Linked DNA regions of Homo sapiens: region 1 is linked to region 2. The links are contacts of gene promoters, found by promoter capture Hi-C in human tissues and cell types (Jung and others, 2019). All regions are on one chromosome and are shown on one strand. Each heading gives the region's core, a stretch centred on a gene start or on the middle of the fragment in contact. The rest is flanking DNA. Distances are from core to core; before and after follow the strand shown. Region 1 overlaps BMP8A (bone morphogenetic protein 8a). Region 2 holds the start of BMP8B (bone morphogenetic protein 8b).

The links. The method cuts DNA at HindIII sites, captures the fragments that hold promoters and counts their contacts. A contact is called where the count stands out against the background at its distance.
Region 1: a fragment that was not itself captured here is called in contact with the fragment with the promoter of BMP8B in region 2 in 1 of the 25 tissues and cell types used here (aorta).

What each region holds. Positions count from the first base shown.
Region 1 is chr1:39,514,122-39,520,870 of GRCh38, reverse strand. The region is part of intron 3 of BMP8A (bone morphogenetic protein 8a); the gene reads right to left. It also overlaps the pseudogene OXCT2P1. Among named protein-coding and RNA genes, the nearest start is that of BMP8A, 26 kb to the right of the region's middle. RefSeq lists a silencer at 6,065-6,154. The HindIII fragment of the contact is 4,536 bases long and covers 156-4,691 here.
Region 2 is chr1:39,785,312-39,792,185 of GRCh38, reverse strand. It overlaps BMP8B (bone morphogenetic protein 8b), which reads left to right and starts at 3,321. Exons shown (of 7, transcript NM_001720.5): 1 at 3,321-4,034. The coding sequence starts at 3,701. It overlaps LOC101929536 (a long non-coding RNA gene), which reads right to left and starts at 3,210. Exons shown (of 1, transcript NR_135805.1): 1 at 2,015-3,210. RefSeq lists an enhancer at 2,714-3,215 and a silencer at 2,770-3,369. The HindIII fragment of the contact is 10,857 bases long and covers 164-6,874 here.

The sequences.
Region 1 (6,749 bases), core at 1,174-3,673, 270 kb after region 2:
GGTAGCATCTGCCAGGTTGAGCGAGTGCTTGTTCTGCTGGGCACAGCCCAAGAGCAGGGCATTAACTGTCTCCCTGATGCCCACAAGGGAGATGCCAGGCAGAGCAGAAACATTGAACCAAGTCCCAGAGCCCAGGTTGCAGCCTGCGGCAGTCTCATTCCAGAGCCCGAGTTCTTATGCACGAGCTGGGCTTATGGACAGAAAAGAAAGAAAGAAAAGGCTGAAACAGAGATCTGACTTGGGCCTCAGCCCCAGGAGGAGTGAAGCCTGTAAACGGGATTGTCCCCCACAGCCGCTTCCAGACTGAGGATGCCGCTGAAAACATGATAACTAACCCTGGAGATGCCAAGCCTCACCAATAAAACTGTGTATCATCCTGTACTTGTTTGGATTTCAATAACCTTTCTATTGTAAAAGCAATTAAGTAAAGAAACTTTTGAGGCCAGGCAAGGTGGCTCACGCTTGTAATCCCAGCACTTTGGGAGGCCGAGGTGGGAGGATTGCTTGAACCTAGGCATTTGAGACCAGCCTGGGCAACATAGTGAGACCCTGTCTCAACAAAAATATAAAAACAAAAATGAGCTGGGCATGGTGGTGAACTTCCCGGGAAGCTGAGGTGGGAGGACTGCTTGAGCCTGGGAGGTTGAGGCTGCAGTGAGGTGTGATTGTGTCACCACACTCCAGCTGGGCGACAGAATGAGAGTGTGTTTCAAGGAAAAAAAAACAAAACACAAAACTTTTTCTGGTTGTTTAAATAAGTCTCCACAATAAACATTTCAAATTTATAAAATCCCTTGGAGCAGTATACCGTAATTGACTTGATATTGGCTCATCATAGACATGTAGGTTATTTCCCGGCTTTCATGATAAAGATGGGAGTGCAATGGAGCCTCTTCACTCCGTGCATGGGTGAAATTTCCTGATACTGAATTGCAGAAGCATGATTACCAGCTCATTTTCATGTCTCTTTAAACAGTGCCAGTTGTTCAGTTTACACGAAAGTACATTTCACCTCCATGTTATAAGCACAGATGTACACACGTATGTACACACAGGCATATGTTTGCATAAACACACAGATGCACATACGCTCAGACAGACATCACACACACAGATGTATTTATTCCTACGTAGTTCTCCAGTACACCCTACAGGTCAAGGACACTGCCTGCCCCACCCTCAGTCCCACTCAAAGGTCAGCCCTTAAGCAGCTGTGCCTCAGCCCTGGTGTCCCTTGGCCACTTGACTGAACAACCAGTGAATCCAGAGACCAACCTTTGACCCGTGACATCATCCGCCACAAACAAATGCACTGGCAGGAGAGGCTCCCTCCCTCTCACGAGCATGGACAAGAGCTGCTGAGACAGGGAGGCTGTGAGCTGCAGATGCTAACATGGGAAGGAGGCCCAGAGAGAATCCACTGGGCAGGGCTTGAGTCACGGTGAGTCAAGGTTATGGGGAAGCAGCAGAAATACAAGGAACAGAGCTGGGGCACAGAGGAAAAGACAAGTGAGGTCACAACGGAGAGAGAACAGAGCAGCCTGAGTGGGGTGGTGGTGGTCACCAGCCCGGGCACTGGAGTGTCACTCTGCAGACTGGCTGACCCATGGGGACAGCCTGGGGCCCAGGGCAGCCCTCCTGGCTCCACTTGCAGCTCTGTCCTGTGACTCCCTGGGGAGCCCTGCCTGCTATGGGGCCTGAGAGGCCATCAGTCCTGCAGGCTTTCCTCACTATTTGCTTCTGTGCAGCTGTGTTCAAGGGTCTTATGGGGGGTCTCCCAGACACAGGATAGAATGTCGCATTAGATCAGTTACACCACAGACCCTCACAGAGCCCCTCTGAGCCAGGCCTGGCTTGGGTGCTGGGAACCCCTCTGTAGGTCTCACAGGCCAGGCGAGCCTTGAAACCTTGGAAGCAGCTAATCCCAGGTTCCCATTTTACAGAAGCAGAAACTAAGGCCCAGAGAGAGCAGCAACTGTCCAAGGTCCCAGAGCAAGGTGGGTCGGAGCCAGGATTGTCATATACTTTTCCAGCAAACTGCAGGGCCCAGCTGGATGTGGCTGGGCAAGATGGGGGGTGGTGAAGGGGACTAACAGTGGGTCTGGGTTCAGAGCCCTGCATCTGGCAGGCCTGGAGAAGCTCCCCCATCCCCAGCCCTCTCCTTCCAGAGCCCAGAGCCTCCCTTCTCCATCAGCTCTGCTTCTTACCCACCCATTCTTAGGCAGGACTCCCTGGCTCCAGCTGGCTGCAGGGAAGGCCAAGCAGTCAAGGTGGGGGGCTCTCAGGCTGCCCAGCTGTGGGCAGGCCCCTTCCAGAAAGGTGGAGTTGGAGGCCCAGAGGGTCACTTGTCCGCTTCTAGATACCTCAGCCTTTTCCACACTGCTCCTGGGAAACTGACGCCCAGGGCAAATCAGGTGCCCCTCTCCAGGAGCCCCAAAAGGCACCCCACTGCCCACTAGATGACATTTCATTTCAAGCCCCCAACCCCAGCCATAGTCCCTGGCCCCTTTTCCACACCCCCAGTCTGTGCCCTCCATGAGCGCCAACTCTCCCTGCCCTGCTCTCCTTCCCAGGATCTGGCCTTTCCTGCAGGGTGAGGCTCCAATGGGCCCCTGGAAAGTCTGTCCTTGACCAGTGAGAACTTACTACTCTGACCACATGCCCCCAATGGCCTGGGAACCCCCAGAGCTACACTTATGCAGTGCATGCACCAGGCCAGGCTTGGCTGTCAACAGCACGTGTGCACGCGTGCATGCGCACACACACACACACACAATCTTAATTTTAGTTTTTGAGACTATAGATTCAGGAGGAAATGCCTCGCAGCCTCTTGGGTTACAACGGACCATCACACAAGTGGCCAGTTTGGGCCTCCATCCCAGAGAGGAGGGCCTAAGTGTCTGGTGTGAATGATGCAGGAACAATTCAAATGAAGCTGAGAAAACTCATCTAGTCCCTTGGTTAGGGTTCTAGAACTCCTCCTGTCCTAGGCTGTAGCCTTTGGCCACACACAGATAGAGGAAGCTTCCTGGTGGATTTCAGGACCGGCAGCCTCTCCCCTCTCAGTCTCTCCCATCACCCGGTCCCTTCCCTTGGAGATGGTCCTGCTTTCCTTCTACGGACATCTAGAAGCTTAACATCTCATAGGTCCCAGGAGGAGAGATGTGGGAGGAGGAGGGGAGGCTTCAGGGAAACAAAATTTAACAACAAAGGCCCCAGAAGAAATACCAGATAACGGATAAAAACGTTCAAGAAGGCCGGGTGCAATGGCTCAAGCCTGTACTTTGGGAGGCCAAGGCAGGTGGATCACCTGAGGCCCAGAGTTTGAGACCAGCCTGGCCAATATGGAGAAACCCTATCTCTACTGTTAAAAATATATATACAAAAATTAGCTAGGCATGGTGGCACATGCCTGTAATCCCAGCTACTTGAGAGGCTGAGACATGAGAATTGCTTGAACCCAGGAAGCAGGGGTTGCAGTGAGCTGAGACTGGACCACTGTACTCTAGCCTAGATAACAGAGTGAGATTCTGTCTAAAAAAGAAAAAAAAATTACAGTAAGCTAAGGTTAATTGGCCCAACTCAGTGGCTCATGTCTGTAATCCCAGCACTTTGGGAGGCTGAGGCAAGTGGATCGCTTGAGCTCAAGTGTTCAAGACCAGCCTGGGCAACATGGTGAAACTCCATTTCTATAAATAAATTTAAAAAATAAAAAAAAATAAGCAGGCATTGTGATGTGCGCCTGTAGTCCCAGCTACTCAGGAGGCTGAGTTAGGATTGCTTGAGCCCAGGAGGCAGAGGTTGCAGTGAGATCACTGCATTCCATTGCATTCCAGCCTGAGTGACAGAGCCAGACCCTGCCTCAAAAAAAAAGAAAAAAGAAAGAGAAGGAAAAAGAAAAAACAAGCTCATGAAGATAGCATGTCTTCCAATCACAAACTCACATCTTTGCTCGCCTATTTCTCACTGCAGTAGTAAAATGTCCCTTCAGGTGTACTCTGGGTTGAGTGATTTTCTCCCTCGTCAGTTTTTATCTCCATTTCATGGTTCAAGTACGAGGGAGGCGCTTGAATCAAATCTTGCTGTGAATGCGCTGAGCTGTGCACGCTCTGTGTAAACATCACAGAGCAAAGCGGACATCCATTCCTCACCACTGCAGACCTGCGCCTTGCAGTGCTCGAGAAACACAGTGAGGAACTGATCTGTTTTCCTGTTGTTTTTAATTAAAGTCGCAGCTCTCTAGAGGAGCACTGTCCACCTAGGGAGGAAAGTAGGAGGCCAGTAGCAAACCCCTCCCAGAGCTGGGGACATGTATTCCCCTGGGGAACCCGGTGGCATCCGCCCTGAGGAGCGCACCACCCCGCCCAGATCCAGGTCCCGTCAGGGTACCACCTGCTGCATGGGCCTGAGGTTCGGGGACACAGCAAAGGCACACCCCGTGCTCTTTTTGATGTCGTCCACCGTCAGGCCCTCCCAGAGCTCCCTCAGCGTCAGCCTTTTCTTCCTGTGCACGTCAAACACGGCCTTCTCGGTGATGATGCGGTCCACGCACCGCTTCCCGGTCAGCGGCATGGTGCATTTCTCCATGATCTTGGGGGTGTTGTCCTTTGTGCAGTGCTGCATGGTGACCACCACTCTGGTCTTCTGACTGGACACCAAGTCCATGGCACCGCCCATGCCTTTCACCTTCTTGCCAGGGATCATCCAGTTCGCCAGGTCGCCGTATTTGGAAACCTGCATGGCTCCAAGCATGGTTAGTTGGATGTGTCCCCCTCGGATCATGGCGAAGGAGTCGTCGCTGGCGAAGAAGCAGCCCCCGGGAAGCACCGTGACCGTCTGCTTGCCTGCATTGATGAGGTCGGCATCCACCTCATCTTCCGTGGGAAACGGGCCCAGGCCCAGGATCCCGTTCTCACTGTGAAGATGGACAGTCATGCTGGGACTGATGAAGTTGCTGGCCAGCAGGGGGATGCCTATGCCCAGATTGGCGTACATGCCGTCCTCAAATTCCAGAGCTGCGCGTCTGATGATGCGCGTCCTGGCGTCCTCTTCCTTTCCAGCGTCTCCATCTTCCTCTTTCCGGATCGTTAAGCGCTCAATTCGTTTCTCGTATTTCTGCCCCTTTATCACGCGACCTACATAAATGTTAGGAACGTGGATGTCTTCTGGGGGGAAGCCCCCACCTCCACCGCCGTGACGTCTGCAGCTTTGCACATGGGCACGTTGAAATTGCGGGCGCTTCTCCTGAAGACCACGTTTCCTGCCCGGTCGGCCTTCCACCCTTTCACCAGGGCGAAGTCTGCCCGGATGGCGCGCTCCAAAAGGAAGTGGTCGCCGTTGAACTCCCTCACCTCTCGGGGCTGGCTCATGAGCGCCAGGTGGCCGTCCGGGGTGTAGCGGATGGGGGCGCCCCCTTCCTGGACCAGGGTCCCGTAGCCCGTGGGGGTGTAGAAGGCGGGCACCCCGGCGCCCCCCGCGCGGATGCGCTCGGCCAGGGTGCCCTGGGGCGTGAGCTCCAGCTCCAGCTCTCCTGCCAGGTACTGGCTCTCGCACAGGGTGTTCTCGCCCACGTAGGAACAGACGATGCGACGGACCTGCCTGGCGGCCAGCAGGAGGCCCAGGCCGAAGTCCTCCACGCCCACGTTGCTGCTGACCACCTGCAGGTCTTTCACGCGGGTCCTGAGCAGCGCGGCGATCAGGTTCTCGGGGATCCCGCAGAGCCCGAAGCCCCCGATCATGACGGTCGCCCCGTCAGAGATGTCCTTCACCATCTCCACCGGGTCCGCGTAGAACTTGGCACGGGGCCGGGGACTGGTGGCAAAGCAGCGGGCGCAGCCCTGGGACAGCGCGAGCCCTGAGCCGCCGGCGGGGACCCCGCGCCCGAGCACTGACGCCAGGAGCCGCAGCGCCGCCATAGTCGGCCCGGGTCGGAGGCCAGGACAAGTGGTGTGAGCCCTGCGTGCGCCTCGGGCCGCGCGTCACAGAGCAGGGCGGGCGCCCGCGCCCTGACGCACTCCCTCCCAGCAGGTCTCCCCGGCCAGGCGCAGGCTCTAGGCCAGGCCCGCGACCCGCAACAGGGAGGGGGCCGGCTCCGCCCTGGGCTGGGGGCCCCGAGTCAGTCCTCCGTGTCCAGCGCACAGGCCCGGGCGCAGGACAGAGCTGAGGTCAGGCTCCGCGAGTAGGGCACAGGCTAGGTCCCCTCCTGCCCCAGTGGAGCCTCAGACACAAACTCCAACCACCCCGCCCAAGCTTCCCCCCAGCTTCCCCAGCTCATTAAAGACACCAAGTGTCCAATGAGCAGGCGCCGCTGGGTGACACCGACGCTCATGAACACCTTCACTGGGCATCACTCTGTGCCAAGCACCCTCCTTTAATCCTGTGACAACCCGGAGAGTGAGTGCCTGCCCCACTACAGCCTCCCAGAGCTCAGGTTCACCCCTCACTGCGACAGTGGGGACACTATCCCTCACCTCCATCAGGAAGGGTCCCTGCTCTGAAGAGGCCCCCCGTCTTGTCCTCTGCATCCCCCCGCCCTCTCCACCTCCCCCACTCCAGCTCCCTGCTCCAACTTGTGCGGAATTTTGCAGTTTTCTTCCCTCTGCACAGAATCACTGCATCACCACAGCAGCGTGCAGGCGTCTCCTCACCTGGAAAGGACCTGCCTTGTCCCGGGTTCTCTCCAGCCCCAGCCCATGTCTCTGCTCCCCTTCCCCAGCAAAGGTTCTGGAAAGAGCTGTCTCCTGCCTCCA
Region 2 (6,874 bases), core at 2,072-4,571:
ATGCCAGACCACTGGGTCCTGGGCGCTTATCACCTTGTGCCTTGCTGGTCCCCAAGATGTGGTCCTCAAAAAACTAAAAAGCTATAGTCACATGCATTTGGAAGAAGCCAAGTTAAGGCTAAACAGGTTTTTATTTATTTATTTATTTAATTTACTTATTTATTTATTTTTACTGCAGGATTTCTAGAGCTTACAAAGTGCTAAGTGCATGAGGGCTCTACCAAGGGGGAAATATATAGCGCAGTGTGTACTGAACCCCTTTTGCAGGAAAGCCCTCAGAATCCTCACCTGGGGAAATTCTGCTGTAAGCAATGAAAGGCCATGGAAGGATTCAGATTTTCATTTGGAAATATGCATTCTGCGGAATGAGTGAGGGCTGGGTGGGGTGGGTAGTGAGATGAGACATAAGGAGACCAGTGGGGAGGAGGTGCTCCATGAAACACCTGAGTGCAAAGGGGCGTGCACAGGCTCAGGGATTCAAGAGGCATTTGAAGGTAGAATCAATAGACTGAACTGCCCTTGGGAGGGAGGGACGTGTGTCTGCGCCAGGGTTTTGGCTTCTGGCTCTGGTCATGTCTTATCGGTCATTGGATGTAGCTTCTGGCATCTAGCAGGAAGGCCTGCCCTACTAATATATTTGGAGTTGGGTGTGACTGTATGGCGGCACTGAAGCCTCAGTGGATGAGCTCATCACCAGGTCAAGTCTAAGGGGAGAACAGGACTGTGGACAGACCCAGCAGACATCCATGTTTTAGAAGTGGGCAGGGAGGAGTGGTCAGCAAGGGAGCAGGCGTCCTTGAAGCCAGGGGAGGACAGGGTTTCAAAAACAAGAGAGCAGTGTGTAGTAACCCTCCACATGCAAGTTACAACAGCAGAGAGGTTTTCATCTATCAAACCAGCAGAGATTGATTTATTTATGTATTTAACAGTTATATCTAGTGTTGGTAAGGGTGATAGAAAATAAGCACCCTCGTGCTATTGGGGCAACAGATAATATGTATCAAAAACCATAAAAAGTGTATATGCTCTTTGATTCAAATATTCCATCTCTAGACGCCTGTAATCCCAGCACTTTGGGAAGCTGGGGTGGGCAGATCACCTGAGCCCAGGAGTTCAAGACTAGCCTGTCCAACATGGCAAAACCCTGTGTATACTAAAAATACAAAAATTAGCCAGGCATGGTGGTGCACGCCTGTAATCCCAGCTGCTCAGGGGGCTGAGGCACAAAGACCACTTGAGGCGGAGGCTGCAGTGAGCCAAGATCATACCATTGCACTCCAGCCTGGGTGACAGAGCAAGACTCCATCTCAAAAAAAAAAAAAAAAAATCCATCTCTAGAAATTCATCCTAAAGAAATCACCATGGATGTGCACAGATTATTCTACAAGATTGTTCATAACAACATAGTATATAATATAAAAATATAATTATCCCATAACATAAGCTTGATTAAAAAAATTATGATAACAATATGATGAAAAAATACCACGAAGCCAGTAAAAAAAGTGTGCAATAATTAATGGCATAGTGAAATACTGCAATATAACGTGAAGCTAATAAAGCAAATAAGATCCTGTTTTTTGTATGAAAAAATACACATACATGTAAGAAAAAGAGACATCAAATATTACCAGTGATTATCTCTGGAAACAGGGATTTGGGTGATTTTAAAATTTGTTGGGGGTAATATTTTTACTTTTCTGTACTGACCTGGCATAAGTTCCTTAATCGCTGTGTGCCTCAGTTTCCTCATTTGTTAAAAGAGGAGGTTCCAATGGTATGTACCCCCTGATGATGTGCAAAAGTGATTATGAAACTATTTTCAAAAGTTTCTACAAAAGCAAGTTACCTCTGTAATCAGGAAAAAGTAGTTCTTTTAGTGCTCTGAATAGTGTAATAATAATATTTATTTTATTTCATTTTATTATTTACCCTTGCAGAAATTTACTTCTTCGGTAAAAGACAGACTAGGCATGTGCTTAAGGAGCCAGCAAATGACCATTTACATTAATAATTTATTTAATATAGAAATTTTTATTGAAGTGATGACTTCTAAATGTGATTTTTGGGGGCATTATACACTTGCTTCGAGGTTTAATCTTCAATCCACATGGGGGGGCACCATAATCACTGGTGCCCAGGGCCCTCGTCTAGCCCCTGTGAGGCCCTTTGCAGTCCCTCCCTTGCCAGCCCCTCCAGCCTCCGCCATTTGCCCCGTGGGCTCTCCAGGTTCCACTTGAGGAGCTGCCCCCTGCCCCAGCCCAGCTCTACTGCTGTGTGACCTAGCGTAAGTCCCTTAACCGCTGTGTGCCTCAGTTTCCTCATTTGTTAAAAGAGGAGGTTCCAGTGGTAGGTACCCCCTGACGATGTGCAAGCATCACAGAAATGACACAAGACACACACTGAGAACATGCCTCGCGCGTGGCAAGTGCTGACTGTTACCTGCCATTATTAGGCTCCCCCGCCGGGGTCTCAGGGCCTTGGCACAAGCTCTTCCCTCTGCTTGGAGCACTTTCCTCCACTGACCTTTCCTGGCGCTCCAGGTCAACTCCAGGAGCCTTCCCAGTACAGTCTAGGTGCCTTCTCCTTCCGCAGCGCCTGAACCACACAGGAATAAGTAAGGCGAGAGCGCGCCCAGAGAAGAGCAGAGAGTGCAGAAAGGGGCTGAGTTAGTAGAGGCATTTCCGCGGGGATCCTTCTCCTGCCAGGCCTGCACCGGGGCCGTGGCGACTGAGAAGTGCACAGGTGGCTCCCGGGTGCTCCAGAAGGGCCCCAGAGCTCCTGGCCCGGCTAAAGGCAGGAGGCGGGTGCGCGTCTCCCCCGCGAAGCTGGATCAGTACTGGGGGCGCAGGGGGCGCACGCCGCGCAGCGAGGGCTGGCGGGGGCGGCCTGCCTGGGGCGCTGCCCAGGCTCACGCGGGAGCCAGGTGGGGGCGCGGGGAGGAGCAGCTGAGCAGGTGCCGGGAAGGAGGCGCCTGCAGCATGCCATGGCGACCCGCGCACGCGACGGCGGGGCGGCCGGGTGGCACCACTGGCGGGACCGGAAGGGCGCCGCGGCCCTAGGATCTCTGCGCCGAGGCCCGCGGCGGAAGCCACGACGGCCATGACCACGCTGACGCCCAGGCTGCGAGCCCCTCGCCCGGGCCGCCTGCCCACCCGCCACGCCCAGGTAGCACCTCGGGGTCTCCCCACCCGCGACACCGGCCGCAGCCCCGGGCCCCCTCGCAGGCGTGGCCCCCGCTCCCAGGCCCCGCCCCCGCCCCCCCATTGGTCAGTCCCGGGGTGGGGGCGGGCGACGCGGACCGCTGGGCAGGGCAGGGCAGGGACTCGCGGGAACCGCACCAAGCGGGTGGCTGCAGGAGCTCGCCCATCGCCCCTGCGCTGCTCGGACCGCGGCCACAGCCGGACTGGCGGGTACGGCGGCGACAGACGGATTGGCCGAGAGTCCCAGTCCGCAGAGTAGCCCCGGCCTCGAGGCGGTGGCGTCCGCGTCCTCTCGTCCAGGAGCCAGGACAGGTGTCGCGCGGCGGGCGCTCCAGGGACCGCGCTGAGGCCGCGGTCGCCGCCCGTCCCGCCCCGCCCCGCCGCCCGCCGCCCGCCGAGCCCAGCCTCCTTGCCGTCGGGGCGTCCCCAGGCCCTGGGTCGGCCGCGGAGCCGATGCGCGCCCGCTGAGCGCCCCAGCTGAGCGCCCCCGGCCTGCCATGACCGCGCTCCCCGGCCCGCTCTGGCTCCTGGGCCTGGCGCTATGCGCGCTGGGCGGGGGCGGCCCCGGCCTGCGACCCCCGCCCGGCTGTCCCCAGCGACGTCTGGGCGCGCGCGAGCGCCGGGACGTGCAGCGCGAGATCCTGGCGGTGCTCGGGCTGCCTGGGCGGCCCCGGCCCCGCGCGCCACCCGCCGCCTCCCGGCTGCCCGCGTCCGCGCCGCTCTTCATGCTGGACCTGTACCACGCCATGGCCGGCGACGACGACGAGGACGGCGCGCCCGCGGAGCGGCGCCTGGGCCGCGCCGACCTGGTCATGAGCTTCGTTAACATGGGTGAGTGCGGCCGCCCGCGCGGGGACCCTCGGAGTAAGCTGGCTGCAGGGGAGGGGCGCGCATCCGCGGGCTGTGCCGGGCCCTGGCCGAACGGGGAGTCACAGACGGTGGACGCGAACCACAGGGGAGTGGGACCGCCGTGGTTAGGGAAGGTCTAAGGGTCATGGGGGCCCCCTGGGCTGCGGGGTGGTCAGGAGCAGAGTGTGGGGGACTGTGGACTCCCAGGCGCTGCCTTCACCCTGCCCCAAACACACCCAGGAGTAAGAATCAGGTGATGTCTTTGCCCACCTGGGCTGCCCCGGGAAGACAGCCTGGTCCTGGGGAGACAGGTGAGTAAACAGAGGCCGGGATGCTGTCACTGTGATAAGGGCAGTACTGAGGAGAGGGACAAAGTTCAGCGTGGAAACCTGTGGTCACATCGGAGTGACCAGAGCTGAGTCGCGTGCCCTGAGTCCACAGCAGGCTCTTCTCTGTGCGGAGCCTGGGTGGGGTGCGGCTGTCAGGGGGGCGGCTGGGGAAGGAGCAAACTCAGCTCGCTGGGGCAGGGACTGTTGCCTTGTCACCCTGGGCCCAACACCTGGGATGTGATCTGGTATGGGGTGAGTGTCCAGTCCTGTGGAATGGTCCAGTGGGCAGCTGGACCCACTTTGTTCTCCCAGGCAAAGCCCGGCTTTTCCTGTCTGCAAATATCTTGTATCAAACCCTGGAGCTATTTATTCCCTAAGATCTCAGAGATTTTTTTTCCAGTACTAAACTCTTTGGTCTATGGTCATGTAGTTACTATTGGTCAGGTCACCCATCTGCTTTGCCTCCTGTCTGTGGCTAGTGACAGTCTGGGGTCTGGGGAACCAAGGACCACAGATCAGCCCAAAGTCGGGGAGCTGTGGGGCTGAGAGGAGGGAGAGGGTCCCTGGCCCCGGCCATCAGCCTCCCTCCACAGACAGCATCATTAATTCTTCATCCTCCCGACAACCCTGATAACAGCCACGGTCTTCATCCCCATCTCCCAGATGAGGACAGTGAGGCTCAGAGAGGCAGCGCCATGCCTAGGACAGCGCAGCCTCTACGCTGCTGAGCCAGGACAGGCCCAGGAAGCCTGACTGTCCATCCAGGGCTCAAAGAGATGACATTTCTGTTGTCAGGTCAGGCTTTCAAGGTGCAGAGACCTTTCTGAGGAGTCTGGGCTGAGGAAAACAGGGGACTGAGCCGCAGCAGGTTTTGTGGGGCCATCAGCCATTTGCTTCCTACACTAGGACAGAAGAGGGCATGGCCAAGCCTCTGCTTCCCGCAACCCAGAGCTGGTGGTGGAGGCGAGCAGCAGGAGGCAGCCATTCACCATCACTGAGCGCCCAGTGCCAGGGACAGGACTCTAGCCGGTGGGATCTGGATGCTGCCTTTGTAGTTAGAGGACAGGGTGGGGATGTGGGACAGAGGAGACCATCTGTGAAGCTGGGGCTGGGGCTCTGTCATCAGGACAGGCTGACACTGGGCTCAGGACCAAGAAGAGTTGTGGATGGAGTCGTCCAAGAATGTCCCCAGGGAGCCGCCCATCAGAATGCGTCACCACCCAGCCCACATCCGACCTCCCCTGGCATCCCCTGGGTCAAGGCATGCACAGCCTGGTGGGGCTATTGCTATGAATTGGGCAGGGCCTACCCCTCTGTGTGACCTTAGGAAAGTTCCTCACCCTCTCAGCCTTCGTTGCTCCTTGTAAAATGAGGTGCCTGGTGATCTGTCCTCAGGGTTGTTGTGTGATTGGTAGAGGGGCAGGAGTAGAAAGCCTGTGCTGCTCCCCTCAGAGGGTGAACCTGGACCTGGGCACTGTTGGCCCCAGGCCCTCCCAGCTGTGGCCTAGTTCGGAGGTGACAGGAACATCTCCACATGTCTTATACACATGTAAAACCTAGAAATGGATTCTAAAAGCCAATCAAAAAGTGTTTGTACCTGTTTTTAGAATGAAAAGTAGCATGTGAACTTTCACAGCCTTACAATTCCTCATTTAACTCATGTGAGACTGTTTTGCCAGCCCTGTTTCATGGGCTCAGAGAGGTTAAATAGCCAGCCCAGGGCCACACCGCACATCCGGGGTGACATCCACGGCTGTGGATTTCAAATCCCAGCTTCTTCCCACACCAGCTTTGTGCATTTCATGAAGACTTGGGGCCTCCAGCGCTGCGAGATTAACAAGCAGATCATTGTTAGTGGAAGCCCAGGCTGTGGGTGGGCGCAGCCAGCTGTCAGAAAGGCCTTCTTTATTCTGCTGTGCTAACTGCACTAGTAGAACTCTCTCAGTTAGAGTAGCTTTAACTGGTAATTACTGAGGCTGGGTGGGGCGGTGGGGGGGCATGGATTAGACACATACCAGGATGCTCTCCATGTTTGGAGGCCCCTGGAGGTTGGTGGCCCTTCTCCTGCCTCAGCCTCCCGAGTAGCTGAGATTACAGTCATGTGGGCAGAGGCCACCACGGGATCTAATAGCAGGGTCACTGTGGTGTCACCGCCCACACGCAGGCTCCCACACCTGCTCCTGCCGGCTCCACCTCTCCTATCAGCTTCATCTGACTCCTGAATAGCCAGGTCTGGTGCCCGTAGGGCCCAACTCTTGATGGCAGCCTGTGGGACCCAGGGGGCGGGGCTCTCATAGGCCTCCCACCATGGCTCAGGTCTCCGTGCAGAGCAGGTGCTTTAGGAAGCCAAGCCTGCGTCCTGATGTTCAGAGCCTGCACTGGGAGGCCAGGGCTGGGGTCAGAGCCGGGGCCCTGCCTGGCCTGTCATCCATATCAGCCTGTAGACCTGGGCTCTCTTGGGCAGGACAGTGATGGAGCGGTTGGATTCTGTCC